Regions from separate parts of the Homo sapiens genome. Here regions 1, 2 and 3 are each linked to region 4. Evidence: promoter capture Hi-C in 16 types of primary human blood cells and fetal thymus (Javierre and others, 2016). All regions are on one chromosome and are shown on one strand. The core of a region is centred on a gene start or on the middle of the fragment in contact, and the rest is flanking DNA. Distances in the headings are between cores, read along the strand shown. Region 1 overlaps NEO1 (neogenin 1). Region 2 overlaps NEO1 (neogenin 1). Region 3 overlaps NEO1 (neogenin 1). Region 4 holds the start of CD276 (CD276 molecule).

Evidence for each region. Contacts are between HindIII fragments. The CHiCAGO score rates a contact against its expected background, and 5 or more counts as called.
Region 1: a contact is called between a fragment that was not itself captured here and the fragment with the promoter of CD276 in region 4, in 4 of 17 cell types (monocytes, M2 macrophages, M1 macrophages and 1 more). The highest score is 10.4, in monocytes.
Region 2: a contact is called between a fragment that was not itself captured here and the fragment with the promoter of CD276 in region 4, in 1 of 17 cell types (neutrophils). The highest score is 7.5, in neutrophils.
Region 3: a contact is called between a fragment that was not itself captured here and the fragment with the promoter of CD276 in region 4, in 1 of 17 cell types (neutrophils). The highest score is 8.1, in neutrophils.

Annotation. Positions count from the first base shown.
Region 1 is chr15:73,279,526-73,282,514 of GRCh38, reverse strand. All of the region lies in intron 22 of NEO1 (neogenin 1), which reads right to left. Among named protein-coding and RNA genes, the nearest start is that of MIR12135, 19 kb to the left of the region's middle. The HindIII fragment of the contact is 2,446 bases long and covers 333-2,778 here.
Region 2 is chr15:73,261,121-73,264,606 of GRCh38, reverse strand. All of the region lies in intron 15 of NEO1 (neogenin 1), which reads right to left. Among named protein-coding and RNA genes, the nearest start is that of MIR12135, 37 kb to the left of the region's middle. The HindIII fragment of the contact is 1,108 bases long and covers 731-1,838 here.
Region 3 is chr15:73,242,549-73,245,670 of GRCh38, reverse strand. It overlaps NEO1 (neogenin 1), which reads right to left. Exons shown (of 29, transcript NM_002499.4): 9 at 1,173-1,327. Among named protein-coding and RNA genes, the nearest start is that of MIR12135, 56 kb to the left of the region's middle. The HindIII fragment of the contact is 556 bases long and covers 1,454-2,009 here.
Region 4 is chr15:73,682,808-73,685,983 of GRCh38, reverse strand. CD276 (CD276 molecule) reads right to left here and starts at 1,601. Exons shown (of 10, transcript NM_001024736.2): 1 at 1,524-1,601. RefSeq lists enhancers at 680-1,186, 2,204-2,712 and silencers at 1,171-1,220, 1,381-1,510, 1,521-1,650, 1,771-1,820. The HindIII fragment of the contact is 3,658 bases long and covers 1,117-3,176 here.

The DNA of each region.
Region 1 (2,989 bases), core at 306-2,805, 400 kb after region 4:
CTGAGATTATAAAAATTGCATGAAAAGTAAAGTCTGTTTTTATAAATACACAGCCTACGCAGAGTTAATTCTCTTGTTCAACTTCAAGAAACAGTAGGTCTGAAGTATGGCTTAATTTGACAAATACTGAATGGTTACTATGTGTCAGTCATTGTTCTAGGTACTAAGGTGCAATGGTGAACAACAAAGATGTGAACGTTTGGCGGGGGAATGGGATAAACGATAAATATGAAATTATTAGTTAATAACTAACGGTGTGAAAAAAAGAAAATGAGGGGTTATGATACAGAGTGTCTGGGTAGCCAATTTAGATTGAATGGTTAGAAAAAGCTTCTCTGAGAAGATGGCATTTGAGTTCAGATCTGAGTAAGAAAGATTCCATCATACAAGGGAAAGGACCCTGAGGCAGGAACAAGCTCTTCTCAAGGAAGAGAAATGCAGCCAGTGTTGTTTAAGCAGAGAGATGCAAGTCAGAAGGAAGGAAGTGAGGAGGAAAAAAGGGATAAGGCTGGAAAAGCTGCAGAGGCTGGACCATTTAGGACCCTGAAGAAGGAAATTCAGATTTTCTTTTCCTTTTCCTATTATTATTTCCCCATTGCTGAAAGGATGAGCTCTAGGCTTTGTAATTTAGCTCTAAGTCTTACTGTCTTCCATTTCTTGAAACATGTTTCTTTGCCTCCCTACTCATTATTTATGTATGCTCATATTATAAAATGTGGCAAATCCCACCACACATGTCTAACCACCATGGATATCTAATCTCTTTCCTTCTAGCTACTCTCTCTCTTAATTTTCTAACAATCAGAGGTGTACAATAATGGGATGAGCTGCCTTGCCAAGAAATGCATCTTTAGTTATTGGAAGTACTTAAGAGGCATCCTGCCAGCGTGGGATGTTGTGGAAGAAGTTCCTACCATCAAAGTATGGCCTGGAATGTGTGTTTTAAAAAAAAATCTCTTGGCTTGGCGCAGTGGCTCACGCCTGTTAATCCCAGCACTTTGGGAGGCCGAGGCGGGTGGATCACGAGGTCAGGAGATCGAGACCATCCTGGCTAACATGGTGAAACCTCGTCTCTAATAAAAAATTCAAAAAAATTAGCCGGGCATGGTGGCGGTGCCTGTAGTCCCAGCTACTCAGGAGGCTGAGGCAGCAGAATGGCGCGAACCTGGGAGGCGGAGCTTGCAGTGAGCGGAGATCGCGCCATGCACTCCAGCCTGGGCGACAGAGCAAGACTCCGTCTAGGGGGGAAAAAATCTCCTGAAGTGGTTCTCCTAACAACCTGGCTTATAAATTTATGTGTTTTTTTTTTTTTTGAGTCTCGCTCTGTCGTCCAGGCTGGAGTACAGTGGCACAATCTCCGCTCACTGCAAGCTCCGCCCCTCTGGTTCATGCCATTCTCCTGCCTTAGCCTCCCGAGTAGCTGGGACTACAGGCGCCCGCCACCATGCCCGGCTAATTTTTTTTTGTATTTTTAGTAGAGACGGGGTTTCACAGTGTTTGCCAGGATGGTCTCGATCTCCTGACCTCGTGATCTGCCTACCTCAGCCTCCCAAAGTGCTGGGATTACAGGCATGAGCCACTGCGCCCGGCCCAAATTTATGTTCTAATCCAAACTTACACTCATTGTGGGAATCCCTTCCACAACGCCGGATTAACTGACCCTCCAACTTTGCTTCTTTGATTTTACAGACTACATCTAAGTACAGTGCTAAATCTGGGGCTGATTTAGAAGGGATTAAGAGCCTATTCTACATTTGGTTCAATCATTTTTATCTTTCATTTATGAGAAAAAGGTAAGCAGACAGACAACTTAAACTGTACATACTGACCTTCAATAAAATAATGTTTTTATATTTGGGAAAGACCATGGTACTGGGGCCACTAAAATGGACCATACTGTTCATATTAGAGTAGGGCTTTCCATAACACTGTTATTAATAGCAGTGCTGAACTACAGGGTTGGGTACTTGGCAGGGCAGGCATTGCAAATTAGAGGCTGGGGAGCTGAAGTATGGGAGGCAGGCAGAGGTGGAGGTGGTTCTTTCCTGCATTTCACTGACAAATTCTCATTTACTCGCATCTGACCTCTTGCGAATGAGCTGGACAAAAGTTTTCTTCTAAGATACAGCAAGAGTGAGCTGCCAAAGAACAGTCCTACCAGGGACAATATATATGCCATTTCTTTATGCCTCATCTGGACTACTATAACAGCTTCCTTTTTTTTTTTTTGAGACGGAACCTCACTCTGCTGCCCAGGCTGGAGTGCAGTGGTGTGACCTCGGCTCACTGCAACCTCTGCCTCCCGGGTTCAAGTGATTCTTCTGCTTCAGCCTTCTGAGTAGCTGGGATTACACGTGCATACCACCACGCCTGGCCTGTAACAGCTCCCTAACCCCTCTTGCCTGACTTTATACTCTTAGCCCCCAACTTATTCTTCACTGCTATCAGAGTAATAACAGTTGATAATAAAAGATGGATGTCATAGTGTACCAGTGGTGTCAGATATTTCACATGTTATTTGTAGGATAAAGCTCATATTTCTTAGCACTGGTACTTGAGTTTTTGACAGGCTGATTCCAACCTGCATTTTCAACTCAATCTCTATCCTTTCTCTATGCAGTGTGACTCCTGGAGAGAGCAGGCTGTTTTATTAATATATTGCCATGCCTCTGCACATGCTGATATTGCTTCCTGGAATGTCCAATCCCTTTCTTGACATTTAGCAATCTTCTAGCATCCTTGAAGATCCGGGTTAGACGGCACCTCTTCTAGGAAGCTTTCCCTTTATCAGGTAGTTTGTTATTAACTCCTCTTGCTCCCACAGCTTGTCACATAGAGCCTGCATCTTTAAAAACGTGCACGCGGGCCCCGGGCGTGGTGGCTCACGCCTGTAATCCCAGCACTTTGGGAGGCCGAGGTGGGCGGATCACCTGAGATCAGGAGATCAAGACTAGTCTGGCCAACATGGTGAAACCCCGTCTCTACTAAA
Region 2 (3,486 bases), core at 35-2,534, 420 kb after region 4:
CTATCTAGGTCAATAATTATAGCTCAAGCTTATTTTACTTTATGCTGCATTAATTTTTTTGCTACTCTGCAATGTGCACTCCATTTTCTAATAAATTCTATCTGCTTACTCTCTTCTGCACATGCAGCACTCCTCTCATCTCTCTATTTCAAACGCTATTTTGATTCTATCTTTCAAGCTCAGGGGTTTCTTCCCTGACTGCTCTACTGTGTCTTGCTATAGCGTTCTCCCTTCTCTGAACAAAATTCACTTCAACTCACTTCACTGTTTCTTGTGTTTTCTTTTTGTTCTGTTAGACTGAAAGCACCTGAAGATCAAGGACCATGTCCTGTCAATACTGCAAAGGAGTTTCACATCAGTAGTTGCATAAAGGAAACAGTATGAAGCTGGTCACTACAGGGACATTTTTTTTTTTTCTTTTCAGACAAAGTCTTGCTCTGTCACCCAGCTGGAGTACAGTGGTATAATCAGGACTCACTGCAGCCTTGACCTCTAGGGATCAAGCGATCCTCCTATCTCAGCCTCCCGAGTAGCTGGGACTAGAAGCACACACCACCATGCCTAGCTAATTTTTTAAATTTTTTGTAGAGATGAGGTCGCAATATGTTGCCCAAGTTGGTCTTGAACGTCTGGGCTCAAGCGATCCTCCTGCCTTAGCCTCCCAAAGTGCTGGGATTAGAGGTGTGAGCCACTGTGCCTGGCCAGACATTTTTATTCTACCAGCAAAGCTTTCCTTTTGCTAACAATTGTCTTAAAAGATGTTCACGTGGGGGATACATTTCCTAGGTTAACTGTACTGTTTCTTCCTTGTAAGGAAAAAGCTAAAGGTTACTTTTTTTTTGAATATTTAAATCCCAGCTTATTTTTTAACAGAAAGGATGAATATAACTCTTCTGTTAGGCACTTGAAGTTGTTCTTAGAAAAGATGTTTACAAAGAAACGATCTGAATGAAAATTTGGTCAGGGCAGATTTTAATTTTAGAAACAAGTGTTTCAAAAAAGATCTATAACGATAATCCAATTTGGAAAAGTAATTATACCTAACAAAATAAATTATTTATTATAAAATATAAATATTTCTCAAATTCTTTTGCTTTTAAAATCAACAATGAGGCCGGGTGCAGTGGCTCACGCCTGTAATCCCAGCACTTTGGAAGGCTGAGGTGGGTAGATCATCTGAGGTCAGGAGTTTGAGACCAGCCTGGGGCAACATGGTGAAACCCCATCTCTACCAAAAATACAAAAATTAGCTGGGCATGGTGGCGCAAGCCTGTAATCCCAGCTACTCAGGAGGTTGAGGCAGGAGAATCATTTGAACCCAGGAGGTGGAGGTTGCAGTGAGCTGAGATCGCGCCACTGCCCTCCAGCCTGGGCAACAGAGTGAGATGCTGTCTCAAAAAAAAAAAAAAAAAAAAAGTCAACTATGAGGTATAATTAGCATATAATAAAATGTATCCATTTAACTGTACATTTACAGTTTTGACAAATATATATACCTTGCATCATAACCACCAAAATCAAGATATAGAACATTTCCAATACTCCGAGAAGCTCCCTGGTGCCCTTGTAGTTGATTCCTAACACCCCTGGTTCCAGGCAACCACTGATCTTGCTTTGTCACTATAGATAAATTCTGCCTATTTTGTAATTCACAAAATATAACAGTGTTTGACGTCTTTGGTCAGCATGTTTATGAGATTAATTTCTGTTGTGTCTTGATAGCCTATTAATTGCTGAGTAGTACTCCATGGATATATCACGATTTACCACTTACCTGTTGATGAAAATTTGTTATTTCCCCTTGTTCATAAAGTTACTATGAACATTGTATATAAGCTTTTACACAGACATGTATTTTTATTTCTTTTAATTATCTACGTGTGGGATTACTGGGTTATAACTTTACAAGAAACCTCTAAACTGTTTTCCAAAGTGGTTGTACTGTCAAACATTCCTACCAGCTAGTATGAGCATTCCAGTTCTGTATCCTTGTTGATATTTGTTATTGCCAGTCTACTAACATTTAGCAATTCTAGCGGGTGTGCAATAGCATTTCATTGTGGGTTTAATTTGCATTTTCTGATGATTAATGTTGCCGAGCATCTTTTCATATGGTTATTGTCCACTCATATATTTTCTTTGGTATAGTGTCTGTTCAAATCTCCTGCCCACTTTTTATTGGGTTACCTTCTTATTATTGAGTTGTAAGAGTTTTTATATATTTTGGACTCAAATTCTTTGTCAGATATTTAAATGGTGGGTATTTTCTCCAAGTCTGTGGCTTGCCTTTTCATTTTATTGGTATGTTTCTAAAAGTAGAAGTTTTAAAATTTTGATGAAATCCAATTTATCAATTTTTAAATTTTATGATTTGTGCTGTTTTACAACCTAAGAGGTCCTTGCCTATCCCAAAGTCATAAAGATTTTTTCCTACACTTTCTTCTAGAATTGTTGTCCCAAAGTCATTGGGTCATTTGCATTTAGGTCTGTTTTTGCATATAGCGTAAGACAAGGGTTAAAGTTCCTTTTCTTTCTCATATGGATATCCAGGTATTCCCACAACTTTTGTTAAAAAGACTGTCTTCTCCCCACTAAATTATCTAAGCAGCTTTTCTAAAAACCAACTGACTATATACATATGGATCTATTTCTGGACTCTATTCTGTTCCATTGATGTATAACATCTTCCTTTACAATACCACCACTATGTCTCAATTATAAGAAGACATGAAATCAGCTAGTATGGGTCTTCTAATTTTATTCTTTAAAAAAATTGTCTATTCTAGTTCCTTTGATTTTTCATAAAAATTATTAGAATCAGCTTATCAATTTCTACAAAAAAGCCTATTGTGACTTTTCTTGGACTGCACTGGGGAGAATTGTCACCTTAGTAATATCACGGCTTCCAACCAGTGAACATGGTATCTTAAGTATTCTTTAATTTCTCTCAGTAACAATTTTCTATTTTCAGTGCACAGATATTACACACATTTTATAAGTCTGCTCCTATGTACTTCATATTTTTTGATGCTATTCTACGTGGTATTGTTATTTTAATTCCAATTTCCAACTGCTTATTATTAGTATATGGAGATACAACTGTTTTTGTATATTCACTTTGTATCTTGTGGCCTTGCTAAATTCACTTATAGTTTTAGTGACCTTTTTGTAGATTCCTTAGGATTTTCTACCCCAGTTACAACGAACAGATATAGTGACCAGATATTGGTTTCCAAAATCATTTTACTGTTTTTGTATATTCACTTTGTATCTTGTGGCCCTTTTGTAGATTCCTTAGGATTTTCTACCCTAGTTACAATGAATAGATATAGTGCCCAGATATTGGTTTCCAAAATCATTTTTCATAAAATAAATCAGGGTTCCTTAGAGAAATGGCTGGTTCCAGGGCCGAGGCTAGTGAAATACTAGATGAGCCAGGAACATCTTACTATGTTGTCAAAAAGGAAGAAAGTGCTCAAAGAAAGA
Region 3 (3,122 bases), core at 482-2,981, 440 kb after region 4:
CCCAGGAGGCAGAGCTTGCAGTGAGCAGAGACTGTGCCACTGCACTCCAGCCTGGGCGACAGAGCGAGACTCCGCCTCAAAAAAAAAAAAAAGAATACACTGAGGAAAAACAGTAATTTGTGTTAAAAGAAAGCAAAAGTCTAGACAAAAGCCTCAAGTAGGAAAAGCATTTATTAAGATCTGGCTGCTTGTAATTTCGGTCCTATAGTTAGTTTACAATCCAAACTTAAGATATACAACACATTTATAATATAAATAAACCTGATTGACACTCACGTCACTGAAAATCTTAGAAATGTAATTAGAAGTAACCCTATTTAGCACGAAAGACCACAGGTCCAAAATAAAGCCTCAAGGAGATTCTAAAGAGCATGGTATGCCTAAAGACAGACAATCCAGTTAAGAACAATTATTAAATACCTTCTTCATGTGCAAGGCATTACATTAGACACTGTGGGAAATGTAAGGATGACAAAGGCTCTGTCTTTGCTACAAAATCAGCAAGGTAAGTTCATAATCATAACTGAAGGAAAAACGTGATAAATATCTTAGACTGTGGAGATAACAATATTAGAATCAGAGGAAAGATTCTAGAAGGCATCTGAGCTAAGTCTTAAAGGGTCAGTAAAATATGAACACGTAGAAAAGCACCAACAGAAGTATATTGTCTTATACTATTTGCTGTTGTTTTTTTTTTTTTTTTTTTTTTTTTTTTTGAGACAGAGTCTCACTCTGTCACCCAGACTGGAGTACAGTGGTGCAATCTCAGCTCACTGCAACCTCCACCTCTTGGGTTCAGGTGATTCTCCTGCCTCAGCTATTCTCCCGAGTAGCTGGGATTACAGGCACCCACTACCATACCCGGCTAATTTTTGTATTTTTAGTAGAGATGGGGTTTCACCATGTTGGCCAGGCTGGTCTAAAAAACCTGACCTCAGGTGATCTGCTTGCCTCGGCCTCCCAAAGTGCTTGGATTACAGGCATGAGCCACTACACCCAGCCCTACTTGCTGTTTTTTGATGTAAATTAATTTTGCCTCCCCTAATTGATAAGGACCCCGAAAGTAAGGAACTGTTATCTTCTGCTCCCCTATGGTGTGCAAGGCTAAACAAAGGTAGAACTTCAGAGAGGTCTACCTCTAGGGGGTGCTGACAGACAGGTGGAAGACTTACCCTCAGGTTGTGTTTCTACTCGCAGTGGAGCTGAACTCTCTCCTGAGCCATGCTTATTTTGAGCCATAACTCTAAAGATGTACACGGTCGCTGGCATTAGGTTTTGAATGGTTACTTGCATCTCTCCTGGGTGACTGGTATTCTCAACACGTTCCCTTTAGACAAAGGATTTGGAGAGAGATAGCATTAATTAGGAATACTTCCAGAATGTACAGTTTCATTTTCCACTCCACATAAAAATCTATCAGTGTAAGTCAAATTAGCTCTCAAACAATGAAGCTTTTGGGGGTAGGACAGTGCAAAGAAGATGGGGACTGGCAAAAGAGCAAGGGCATACGTATCTGACAAATCAGTGATGTTCTTGCTGAAATGTTACTGATATCGCTGACCATAATCACAACTTCCTTTCAGAGAAGACACAGGGCTCTTCTCAATGCCATTTCAAATGGGGCAGCTAGTCATCAACTTTCTAGGCTTTAGAAATCACTGAGTTTTAGGGAAATTGATGGAAGGTGGATATTGGTATGACCTAATGATATTTCACAGAAAATATCAAAGAATGCTGTGTATATTTTGGCTAAGAGACTCTCAATAAAAAGAATGCTAGAGGTTATCATCTTTTAAAATTGGAAATAAAAACATAAAACATTTAAATAAATCCTAAGTGTAACCCAGTCTATAAAATAAACTGATTACAATACTGATTTTTATAATTTCTTAAAATTAACACTTCATTGATTTTGAAGCTGATATGAAATGATATGAAATGTTTGACAAACTTTATCACAAACAACTCAAATCCAGCGGTCTAGTATTTAATATCATGAGATGAAAGCTTAAAACCAGTTATCTAGGTTCTTTACTAAAGGTGGCTTCCAGGTTCTGTCTTGGGGTCTGTGTGACCAACACAGGTCCACAAACATGCTCAGTCTACTGTACTCACTAGAATGAAAACCAGACTGCATAATCAAGAGTTTTCAACAAATATTGTGAAGGAATTTGTTTTAGACAAACAGTTGGCTTTTAGGAACTGTCATTCATGTGAGGAAACAGCTATACCTGTCTTGAGAAAGTAATTAAAGAGCCTCAAACTACTCCATTGAAGAAATTATTCTAATTTATTGAATTAAAATTCTTACTTTAAAATACTGATAATTTGCCTTCAAATTGCAGATTAAAATTTGTGTAGGTCTACATGACCATATGCCAATTTGTCTGATTGTGAGCATTTGCACTGCAGAGAAGTGCTTTTTGGTAATTTTCTATAGTTCTTTTAAGTTACTTTATTTTAATTAAAAAATCCAACAATAGTACCCACACAATATTTACAGAGGATTTTTTCTCTATAATCAGCTAGGTCCCCTGGAAAAGAATACTGTAGTAACAAAAATTATTTTTCAGAGATACTTGAGATACCTAATACTATTTTCTCTTCGGCTAAATCTCTCAATCACAGGATTTATAAGGAAGGATCAACTGATTTCTTACAATTTAAGGTTTCTGACACTTGGTCTGATCATGGATGATCCCTGTCTTAAAGGGAAGTACAGCTGATGCTTGAACAAGACAGGTTTGAACTGTGTAGGTCCACGTATAAGCGGATATTTTTCAACAGAAGTTACACCGAGTGCGCCTGCCTTTCCTGCCCTGCTTCCATTTCCTCCACCTCTTCTGCCTCTGCTACTCCTGAGACAATAAGACCAACCCCTTTTCTTCTTCTTCCTCCTTTTCAGTCTACTCAACCTGAAGGTGAAGACCTTTAGGATCATCTACTTTCACTTAATGTACAATAAATAGTTTCTCTTAAGATTTTTTTGTTTGTTTGTTTTGAGACAGGGTCTCACTCTGTCACCCAGGCTGGAGTGCTCTGGTGTGATCTTGGCTCACTGAAGCCTCCACCTCCTGGGTCCAAGGGATTCTTGTGCCCTGGCCTCCAGTACGTAGCTGGGA
Region 4 (3,176 bases), core at 352-2,851:
CCTAAGTGTTAGTGCTTAATCTCAAGAACTCCAGATATCAGGAAAATGTACTCACCCAAAATACTCCCTTGAAATGAGCCACTTCATACCCTACAGCCCCATAGCCCTCCATCCTGCCCTGCACTCAGATCAGCTCAACCCATCGGACAGGTTTAGACTTCAAGTTTAGACTTCAGTTCCCCTCAGCCTCAAACTGTCCCACCTATTTGCAGTCCCCCACACTACAAGGAAGGCTGCACAGCATCAGATTTCCTAGGGACTTCTGGGAGGCCAGAGGGAACTAGAGGAGGCCGCACTAAATAAAGAACTCTCTTAAAGACAAAGCAGCTTCATTACTTTCTAATATAGAAACTAACTGCTGAAGACATGCTTATAAGAAAAGGACCCCGGGCTTTAATGAAGAGATCAGACTCATTTACAATTATCCACATCCAATTTGAAGGTAAATCGTTTTTCTAAATTAAGACAACTAACACCCCCCCACCCGCCACACACACACACACACACACACACACACACACACACACACAAATCTTTTTTGCTTTACTATTTGCTTAATGTTTTCCCTCAGTGATAGATCCCATATCTGAGTCATCTATCACGCTTTTCTCATTAGAGCAGGTTTGGCTTAGAAATAAATCCCCTGCCTTAGGCTGCCAAACCTGCCAATTCGCTAGCTAAACGGTCGCAGGGAGGGCCCTGGGCGCTGGAATTCAATCCCCTCCCTTCTAGTGTGCCCCCACTCGGGGTCCCCACCTCCCTCCACCGTCGCCCGCATCTCCTCTCCATCCCACCTCACCCCCCACCTCCCTGAGGCTTCCCAAGCCCAAACTGCCCATCCCAATTCCCTCCCCACCCCCAACACCTATTCACCCCGTGGCCCCTGCCAGCCGTCTCTACCTGTCCTTCCCGGAATCTGACCCCTCATGCTGCCCACGGCTGCCTGTGGAAGTGCACCAGTCGCCCACACCTTCGCCCTGCTGGGCCCTGCAGAGTGGACACGCCTAACCACTCGCCTTCCCTCCCCGCCGCTCCCCTCCCGGAGCTGGGCGTTTTCCTCTGCAGGACCCGAGACCCCGCTAACCTCCCAGCGCCGGCCGGTGGCTTCGTTAAGCTTCAACACGGGACAGATCTGCCCCCATGCCCGCTCCAGACCCGGGGCCTGCAAAAGCGCATTCACCCACCCGGCCCGGTCCGCAGCTTCCGGGGTCTGCAGGTCCGACGGCGCCCGGGCCCCTCTCAACCCGAGGAAAGGGGGGCGGGGTAGGATCCGGGAGCCCCCAGCTCTCCGCGGGCCCCACAGCCCAGGGCAGGAGGGGCGCCCGCGGTTCCCGGGACTCCTGTGCGAGGGGGGCCGCCCGGACCTGGGGGAGGGCAGGGGAGCAGGAGCCCGGAGGGAAGGCGCCCTGCTCAGCTCCTGCAGCCCTGAGCGGGAACGTGCGGACCTCCGCGGGATCCAGGCCCGGCCCGCAGCAGACAAAGGCCGCCCCACCCCGCGCCGCCCGCGCCACGCCAGCACTCACCGCGCCGCGCCGACTCTGGGACTCAGGGACGCGGCCCAGCCTGGCTCAGTCGCCGCCGCAGCGAGGCCCGGCCCGAATGGGGGCCGGGGGCGGCCCGGGGAGTCCGAGGGGCGGGGCGGGCCGCGCCGGAGAATCCGCCTGAGGCCCGGAAAGGCGGCTCCGGTGCGTCCCTGAGGCCGGATTGGCCCCGCGGTGGCGGCTGCTGACCGAGGCCTGAGCCAGCCCGCTGGGCAGAGCACACGGCCTGGCCCCCGCCCCCGCCCCGCCCCGCCCCCAGGCCTGACCCTGGCGGGGAAAACCCTCGGCTCCCGGAGCAGGGCGCTGCCCATCCCCCACCCCGTTCCCACACTTCCAAGAGCCGAATCTTCCTTTCTGCGAGAGGGGATAGGTGACTGACTGGTCATCGACTGGCGGCAGAACAGGGCTGGAATCCTGCTGTCCAACCCCAGTCTTGGGTTCTTCCTCCACACCATGCTGGCACCACAGCCCAGAAAGGGTTAACTCGACTGCGAGGAATTAAGAGCTGCAAGGAGCTCTCTATAAATACAGTGTCGTGGGCGCCTGAGCCAACCGCAGGACAATTTCCACTGAGCTGGTTTTCCTCTTTTCCTTCCACCCACGGCCATCCGACCAGCCCTGCCCCCAGCCCCACCCCAGACTGCTGGCCGGACTTGGCTCCAACAGGCCTGACACCTAGTGGCCTTGGGCTCTGTCCTTACAGGGCCCCGCTCCAGCCTGGGAGGAGATGGGGGTCGGGCCTGTCCAGATTTTGCTGTGGTGCAGCCCATCCCTGCACCTGTTCTTGGATCTGTTCTTCCTCACAGGGACAGTGACAGCTAAAACGTAGGGAGACTTTTGTGGGCCAGAGTTAGGTTAGGAGCTTTCCATGCTGGGCCTCTTTAGTTCCTCCAAACAGCCCCGCCGGCTAGATATTATTATTCCCATTTCACAGATGAGAAAACCAAGGCTCAAAGGGATGAAGGGACTCCAACCTTGTACTGCTGCCAGGCTCACCACCAGTGCCAGTGGCAGTACTGGGCAGGGCTTGGGAAATGAGTATGAAAACATGTGCGTCTCTCTGCATGTGTTGCCACTGTTGTAAGCTCTTTACCATTTTATCTCATTTAATCTTCACAACAACTCATTGAGGTGAATACCATTATTCTCATTTTTACAGATCGGAAATAAGGAAATTAAGATACAAAGAGATTAAGTAACTTGGGGACACATAGCTATGAAGGGAGGAACCGGGATTTGCCCTCTGAATTTAAGTGTGCGTGTGGTGTATGGGTAGGGGTGGTGGTGCATGGGTGTGTATATTTGTGGGGGGTTTTTGTCTTTTTTTTTTTTTTGAGACAGAGTCTGGCTCTGGAGTGCAGTGGCTCAATCTCGGCTCACTGCAACCTCCGCCTCCTGAGTTCAAGCGATTCTCCTGCCTCAGCCTCCAGAGTAGCTGGGATTACAGGTGCGCACCACTATTTTGGCCAGGATGGTCTCGATCTCTTGACCTTGTGATCCACCCGCCTTGGCCTCCAAAAGGGCTGGGATTACAAACGTGAGCCACCGCGCCCGGCCGGGTGTGTATATTTGTGAACACATTCAAGCAACTCTGTATTTGAGTCTACGTGCATATGTGTCTTTGAATCACACAGC